2 separate regions of the Homo sapiens genome follow, and region 2 is linked to region 1. The links are contacts of gene promoters, found by promoter capture Hi-C in human tissues and cell types (Jung and others, 2019). All regions are on one chromosome and are shown on one strand. Each heading gives the region's core, a stretch centred on a gene start or on the middle of the fragment in contact. The rest is flanking DNA. Distances are from core to core; before and after follow the strand shown.

What was found. The method cuts DNA at HindIII sites, captures the fragments that hold promoters and counts their contacts. A contact is called where the count stands out against the background at its distance.
Region 2: a fragment that was not itself captured here is called in contact with the fragment with the promoter of FZD2 in region 1 in 2 of the 25 tissues and cell types used here (IMR-90 fibroblasts and mesendoderm cells).

The regions. Positions count from the first base shown.
Region 1 is chr17:44,554,920-44,558,976 of GRCh38, reverse strand. FZD2 (frizzled class receptor 2) reads right to left here and starts at 1,493. Exons shown (of 1, transcript NM_001466.4): 1 at 1-1,493. The coding sequence starts at 1,288. RefSeq lists silencers at 747-796, 1,042-1,288, 1,687-1,786 and enhancers at 283-1,243, 1,461-2,228, 2,229-2,998. The HindIII fragment of the contact is 9,533 bases long and covers 1-4,057 here.
Region 2 is chr17:44,440,911-44,445,300 of GRCh38, reverse strand. All of the region lies in intron 3 of GPATCH8 (G-patch domain containing 8), which reads left to right. Among named protein-coding and RNA genes, the nearest start is that of ITGA2B, 53 kb to the right of the region's middle. The HindIII fragment of the contact is 3,607 bases long and covers 1-3,470 here.

The sequences.
Region 1 (4,057 bases), core at 244-2,743:
AGGACGTGCCGATGAACAGGTACACGAAGAGCGGCGCTAGCACGAAGCCCCGCAGCGGGTCCAGGCTGTTGAGGCCTACGAAGCACACGCCGCTCAGCAGGTCGCCGTCGATCTGGCCCATGGCCAGGATGGTGATGGTCTTGACGGCCGGCACGGCCCAGGCGGCCAGGTGGAAGTACTGAGAGTTGGCCTCGATGGCCTCGTGGCCCCACTTCATGCCGGCTGCCAGGAACCAGGTGAGCGACAGGATGACCCACCAGATGGAGCTGGCCATGCTGAAGAAGTAGAGCATCATGAAGAGGATGGTGCAGCCCTCCTTCTTGGTGCCCTGCACCACCGTGCGGTAACCGTCCTCGGAGAAGCGCTCGTTGCACACCACGCGCTCCTGGAGCACGAAGCCCGCGATGTAGGCCACCGACACCATGGTGTAGCAGCCCGACAGAAAAATGATAGGCCGCTCTGGGTAGCGGAAGCGCTGCATGTCTACCAAGTACGTGGTGACAGTGAAGAAGGTGGAAGCGCAGCACAGCACCGACCAGGTGAGGATCCAGAGGCGCGCGAAACGCGTCTCCTCCTGTGAGAAGAACATGGAACCATCGGGCCGCGCAGGTTCGCAGGGCGCAGCACAATCACGCTCGCCCAGAAACTTGTAGCTGAGATAGGATGGCACCTTGAGGACGCGCGGGCAGTGGAAGGGGTGCTCCAGCGTGGCGTAGCGCGGGGGAGCGCCGCCGCCGCCCGGGCCACCCGGGGTGCCCCCGGCACCCGGCTGCAGTCCCGGCGGCGGCGCGGTGGTGAGTAGCGCGGGAGCTCCGTCCTCGGAGTGGTTCTGGCCGACGCAGATCTGCTCGGCGCCGTGGCGCGGGAAGTGCTCGCAGCGCAGGCGCTCGGGCCACTGAAAACCGAACTTGTTCATGAGGGCTTCGCAGCCCTGGCGCGCGCGCTCACAGATAGAGCGGCACGGCGGGATGGCCTGTTCCAGCACGGTGCACACGGGTGCGTACATGGAGCACAGGAAGAAGCGCAGTTCGGGCGAGCACTGCACCTTCACCAGCGGATAGAACTGGTGCACCTCTAGGCCTGCGTCCTCCTGGTTCGTGTGGCCCAGAAGGTTGGGCATGATGGTCTGGTTGTAGGCGATGTCCGTGCACAGCGGGATGGAGATGGGCTGGCAGAAGCCGTGGTCCGGGATGGAGATGCCCTTCTCCCCGTGGAACTGGGCCGGCCCGGCGGCGGGCAGCAGCAGCAGCGGCAGCAGCAGGCGGGGCAGGGCGCTGCGGGGCCGCATGCTGGCCGCCGCCCCCCACCCGGCTCCTTGGCGCCCCCCCCGCCCCCGCCCCCAACCCGGAGACTGCGCTTCTTCCCCGCCGCCTCCTCGCTGCGGCTGCCGCCTCCCGCGCCTCTTTGCAAACTTTACTCGCGGCCGCAGAGTTGGGGAGGCCGGGCGGGGGAGGGGGCGGTGCGCCTGCCCGCTTGCTTGCCGCGGTCGGACTGAGCAGCCGGAGACACCGCGCGCTGCTGCCCTCTCTCCTCTTCCTCCTCCTCTCGCCTCTCAGCTCCCCCTCTCCCCTCCCTTCTGCACCCAGCGACTTCTTTGTGCCTCCTCCAGCCCTCACCTCGGCCTCTCCGATCCCAATTAGTCGGTTTCAAGGGGGCCCCCGCTGGCGGCCCCGCCCTCTCCTCAGCCCCCCAAAAAAGGGATCCTTGAAACCGCCCCGTCGAGCTCTAAGCACCAACCCAAAATGTGCTCTCGGCCAATCAGATTTAAACCCGAGGACCAGGCCCGAGGGCTGGATTGGTCGACCACAACATAATGAGATCAGAAACCAGATGCCAACAAAACTTTCCCCCCCTTTTGCTTTTTAAAGAGACAAGCTATTATTATATTAAGGGCTGTTTGCCCAGCCCGGGATTTCTCCGGAGTTGCCGCGGCGAGATCGGGGGACACTACTCGACCCTGGCTCACTCCTCTTCCCGGGCCGAGGTGCTCTGCCGGGTGGGGACTCTTTAAACCCTTGCCCCCGCCCCCGATCCTCGAACCCCACCTATTCCTAGTCCAATTTTTCAAATCGAGTGAAAAATCTCAAATTTAAAAATTAAAACAGACTTTAAAAAAACTAACAATTTACAAAGACCTTTTCTGTCCGCTCTTTCTGGAGCCCAGGCGAAAGTTTCACTTCACTTTACACGTAGATCCCTCGCCCTCCCCCTCCACACACCCTTAAAAAACCCTCTGAAAAATGGGATCCTGTCTCTTTAAGAGACTCTTAAAGGGACCAGGACTCCGAGGCGTAATTGCCCCGTAGCCAACACAAAGGAGCCCATTATGGTTCTTTGTGTTCGGTGGCACCTCAAAGTGAGAAAACTCAGGAACTCGGAGGCCCGGAGCTGGAGGGTTGGGGCGGGGGGCTTGGAGGGAGCGAGGGAAAGGAGAATGGCCCGGAGCTGCGGCTTCTCCCTCCCGCTTCTTCTGCGGCAAATCTTAATTGTGCAAAGTAAAGTTTAGTTGCCCTAAGGAGGAGGTCTTAATCGAAAGTTAATGGTGGGGGGCGGGGGGTGACGGGCAATTTTGAGTGAAGGGACGACTCTCTTAGGCCTGACGAACGTTTGAGGGAATTTTCCTTCTGCCTCCCCACCTCTACCTCCGCCCCCTAAAAGCTTCCAGATCCCGTCTCCAGGGCGAGAGGGGAGTTTTACCCAAATCTTAAGTGGTTCCACACCAGAGAGGGGTGGCGTGTGTGACGCGGGAGGAAACTGGGGGGTTGTGGTGAATTATCCCCTCCACATCTCTCACCTGGTAAGGGGTGGGGTGTGGCCAGCAGGGTTCCTGCTACTTTTAGAATTTTTCTTTTCCCTTCTAGGATTTTAAATTTGGAAAGGGGTCGAGGAGGAATTTGCATGTAAATCTCCTGGGCCTGATACTGGATGATGGATCAATTATTTTCTGTTGTCTCTCCCGAGGGACAGGGGAAAGGGGGGACTTAAAAAGAAGAAAGAAAATTGAGTTTAGAAAGCCCCTTTGCTTCACAGTATGGGCCAAATCCTCACAGTCTGGTGAAATGTTTCTTGCTCCAATATAGAAAAGAATTGTTTTAAACAACAACAGCAGAAGAAGAAAAATAACAAAAAGAGGAAAGGAGTAGGGAGAAGGAAAAAATATTCTAAGTAGATGGATACAAAGGGATCCAGGTTTGACAGGATTCAAAAAAAAATTTTTTTTTCCTGATCGAATGAATGATATAAAGATGTTCCGGTTTCTTACAACTTGAAAATGTTCCTTATTACATCCTGGGGAATTTGCCTTTTCCCTACACCAGGATGAAAATTTTCCTTCAAAATTGGGGCATGAGTGGGTGTCGAGGGGGATATGCCTTTTTTTGTGCATCCCATTTCCAGCCCACCCATCTCTATTCCACCAGCAAGCCCATTTTCTCTCAGAGCAGTCTAAGGATGGGAATGTTGTGCTCTCTCTGCTCCATTTGAGCCTGAGCTTTTGATCCTCAGATCTCCTGCCTAGTCCATCTCAAAGCATCTTGAGAGCCGGTACCAAACATGGAAGCTGAGCAGTGGAAACAAAAATGAATGACAGGCTCCTATACCCCATTCAGGAAGCTCGCAGTCCGATAGGAAATTGAGAGCAAATCTCCAATGTAAACGCAGCATCTTCAATTTCCTTCCATGACAAACCCGTTTTCCTGGCCTAGGGCCAGGTCTGAATGACAGTTATCCCCTCCCAGCCACCCCAAGGCAGATGGGGAGCTGGGGAGCTGGAAACAGGAAATAGAGGACATTCTTCCATTCACTCAGGCAACCTTTCATTCCTTCAACACACTTTTTTTCTTATTTCAAACCACCATAATAGGGGCTATGGAGAATGTGGAAAAAGATGACAGCATCTGCCCTTCAAAAATTTATAGTAGGCCGGGGGCAGTGGCTCATGCCTATAATCCAGCACTTTTGGAGGCCAAGGCGGGCAATCACCTGAGATCAGGAGTTTGAGACCAGCCTGGCCAACATAGTGAAACCCCGTCTCTACAAAAAATACAAAAATTAGCTG
Region 2 (4,390 bases), core at 418-2,917, 110 kb after region 1:
GCTGACTTGAGGTTTTCCTTCACTGAAACTGGTTATGGCAACTTTCCAATTCAGTTTTTTAAAAGTTTGTCGATATATGTTGAATGTAAGTTCTTTAGTATTTTTTTCTTAAACATTTGATGCTTCCTTCTCCTTGACTACTGAGTGATAACAAGAAATGAAATTGAACAAGCCTTAAGGCTCTAATGACCAGTAATGTAAAACTCAAATATTTCATTATAAAAGTTTACATATTTTTTGATATATGGAGACCTTTCTAATATAGTGATATGTTCTACTTGATAAAATAATTCCTTGATTATGAGAGTTAAATCATTAGTATCTTGTGATGTTAAGCGGCGCGCATCATGATGACTAAGTATTTACAGTTGAACAAGTTTCAGACCCGCTACGAACATGTTCATTCTCTGAGTCAACAAATGCTTTTTAACTAAATGCCATTCTGGCCTACATACTGTGTCAGATATGGATATAAACATAAGTAAAACTCAGGGCACAAAAGTGCTACCACTTTTTTTCCCCCCGTGAGATGGAGATTCTCTCTTGTTGCCCCAGACTGGAGTGCAATGGTGTGATCTCGGCTCACTGCAACTTCTGCCTCCCAGTTTCAAGTGATTCTCCTGCCTCAGCCTCCCAAGTAGCTGGGATTACAGGAACATGCCACCACGCCCAGCTAATTTTTGTATTTTAAATGCAGACGAGGTTTTGCCATGTTGGCCAGGCTGATCTCGACCTCCTGACCTCAAGTAGTCTGCCTGCCTTGGCCTCCCACAGTGCTGGGATTACAGCCGTGAGCCACCATGCCTGGCCTTTTTTTTTTCTTTAAACTAAAGACTTAACTGTTTTTTTCCGTATCTCCTCAGCCCCATGTTTTAGACTATTTTACCCCAAAATTGTATTTATTAATTTGGCTTTCCCATTTGAAAAAACAAATTGATCTTAGCATGGTGGTTAGCTTGAGGCAATCTTTAGTGAGTCAGTATAATTTTAGCTAAAACAGTTGTATCTCATGTAAAAGTATGATTTTCTTTAGGTTTTTTTTTTTTAATTGAAAGTAACTCATGAATTCTCTTTATTATCTCTTCTAAGGGCTTGAGGATATCATGTTATCCCTGGATGAGATATCCTTCCCAGGCCTAACATTCTGATTTAACAACACTTTCACTAAAGCCTTTTGCCCCACCTTTGTTCCTGTTTATTAATATATTTAGTTATATGATTAAAATTGAACTATTTTATCCTAGATGGAAAGTATCAGATGGAAATTCGTTTAGGTCATAATTAAACTTGTGTGCCTTAGAAAACATCTGTATTTGAAAATCAAATTGGCCAGGCACCATGGCTCATGTCTGTAATCCCAGCACCTTGTGGGGCCAAAGTGGGCAAATTGCTTGAGCTCAGAAGTTCAAGAACAAACTGGGCGGGCAACATGGTGAAATCCCGTCTCTACAAAAAATAACAAGAATTAGCCACATGTGGTGGTGTGCACCTGTAGTCCCAGCTTCTTAGGAAGCTGAGATGGGAGGATTACTTGAGCCCAGGAGGTTGAGGCTGCAGTGAGCCGTGGTTATGCCACTGCACTCCAGCCTGGGCGATGGTGAGACCCTGTTTTAAAAAATAAATAAAGGAAGAAAAAAATCAAATTAATTTGGTTGTTGTATAGGTCACTAAAAAGGCCATGGCAAGAATATAGTAGGTTTTTGTAGTACTGGATAATTTGAACTCTATTTTGGGTAGAAAGTTTTTCCTTTTTTTTTAAACCTTAAAAACTCTCTAGGGATTAAGTAATGTGCTCAATGTTTTCAGTTAATGTTTTCTGAGAGGTAGCATATATCATATGTTAGAGTTGCTTAGAAAAATATCTAAACGATGCTGAAAGTAATAATTGTTTCTATGCCACCTAAAGACTCATTTTCAGGAGAAATTTGCAAAAATTAAGCTTTGGTTTGGAAATAAATGTACCATTTTTTATTCAGTGTTTCTGAAAGTTTCATGTGATCACAGTTTCAATAAATGAAATGATATTTAAGTCCATTAACATGACTTGAATCCTATTTTGAATACTTTTGCAAATCAGAGAATCACCTGCGTAATTTTTTTTATCTTGATTTTCACATATGTATTTGCATTACTTAAAAAGAAGAAATAAGTACTTTAAAGATGTCAGTGTAGGTTCTTGGCCTTTATCAGTTTAATGGTCTTTTTTCCCCTCTTTTCTCTTTTTCGACAAGGTTTTTCTCTGTCACCCAGGCTGGAGTGCAGTGGTGCGATGATAGCTCACTCCAGCTCCTGGGCTCAAGTGGTCCTTCTGCCTCAATATTTTCAGTGGCTAGGACTGCAGGTGCATGCCACCATGCCCAGCTAATTTTTTTAAGAAAAATTTTTTGGAGAGACAGAGTCTTGCTCTATTGCCCAGTATGGTCTCAAACTCCTGTCCTCAAGGCATCTTCCTGCCTTGGCCTCCCCAAGTGCTGGGATTACAGGCGTGAGCCACCAAGCCCAGCCCAGTTTTAATTGTCTTTTGAAAGTGGATTTTAGGCCGGGCTCATTGGCTTACACCTGTAATCCCAGCACTTTGGAGGCTGAGGTGAGCAGATCACTCAAGCCCAGGAGTTTGAGACCAGCCTGAGCAATATGGTGAAACCCCATCTCTACTAAAAATACAAAAATTAGCCAGATGTAGTGGCAGGCACTTGTAGTGTCAGCTACTCAGGAGGCCTAGAGGCAAGAATTGCTTGAGCCTGGAAGCTGGAATTTACAGTGAGCGGAGATGGCACCACAGCACTCCAGCCTGGGTGACTTAGCAAGATCCTGTCTCAAAAAAAACATGGATTTTGTGACTTTTTGATGGCTTTTATATTTACTTGCACTTCATTAAGGTCGTCTTTAAAGACAACTTTAGATATCTTTAAAAGACAACTTCAGACATTTTTAAGCTTTTTTAACTGCTTATGCATTAGCTTCACAAATGTTCTGTTTTCTCTCATTCTCAGCTGAAGTTCCAGCTGGTCAGATTACTCTATTTTGCCTATTTATTGGTAATTCATGGAACGTGGTGCTGCGGTTGTGGTGTTTTTTTTTTTTTTTACATCATCACTATATGCAGTGCCCAGAACAGTGCCTTGAATATAGTAGAAACTCTCTTTCTCTCTCTCCTTCTCTCTCTCTCTCTCTCTCTATATATATATATATGTATATATATACGTATACATATACACACATATATATGTGTATATATATATTATTTTATTTTATTTTATTTTTGTCTCTTTGAGACAGAGTTTCACTCTTGTTGCCCAGTCTGGAGTGCGATGGTACGATGTCAGCTCACTGCAACCTCCGCCTCCCGGGTTTAAGCGATTCTCCTGCCTCAGCCTCCCAAGTAGCTAGGATTACAGGCATGCACCACCATGCCCAGCTAATTTTGTATTTTTAGTAGATACAGGGTTTCACCATGTTGGTCAGGCTGGTCTTGAACTCCTGACCTCAGGTGATCCACCCGCCTCGGCCTCCCAAATTGCTGGGATTACAGGCCTGAGCCACCGTGCCCGGGCTTTTGATTTTTTTGGGGGGCGGGGGGAAGGAGTGTCGTTGTGTTGCCCAGGCTGGAGTGCAGTGGTGCAATCTTAGCTAACTGCAACCTCTGCCTCCCGGGTTAAAGTGATTCTCCTGCCCCAGCCTCCTGAGTAGCTGGGATTACAGGTGCCCGCCACCACGCCCAGCTAATTTTTGTGTTTTTAGTAGAGATGGGGTTTCACCATGTTGGCCAGGCTGGTCTCGAACTCCTGACCTCAAGTGATCTGCCCGCCTCAGCCTCCCACAGTGCTGGGATTACAGGCATGAGCCACCATGCCTAGCCAAAACTCAATATTTGTTGTAAATGTTTGTATTGAATCTCTGTAAGGGGAAAGCAGCAGAGATGCATTGTGGTGTTCTTACATCTTACATTGTGGTATTCTTACATCTGTTGACAATTCAACCAGTGTTTTAATCACTGTAGAAGCTTCTTCCTTTCTAATTTGTTTCTGCAGGGAAATCATATGTCTTCTGTTTCTAAAGTATGGCTGATTACTAGATTATGGTTGTCCTTTAATATATTCTTCCCAGTTGTTCTATTCCTAGAGTTTGTCTCTTTAAAAATAGTGTTTCCCTGGGCTGGGTGCAGTGGCTCACGCCTGTAATCCCAGCACTTTGGGAGGCCAAGGTGGCAGATCATGAGGTCAAGAGATCGAGACCATCCTGGCCAATATGGTGAAACCCTGTCTCTACTAAAAATACAAAATAATTAGCTGGGTGTAGTGGTGCACCTGTAGTCCCGGCTACTCAGGAGGCTGAGGCAGGACAATTGCTTAAACTTGGGAGGCGGAGGTTGCAGTGAGCCGAGATTGCG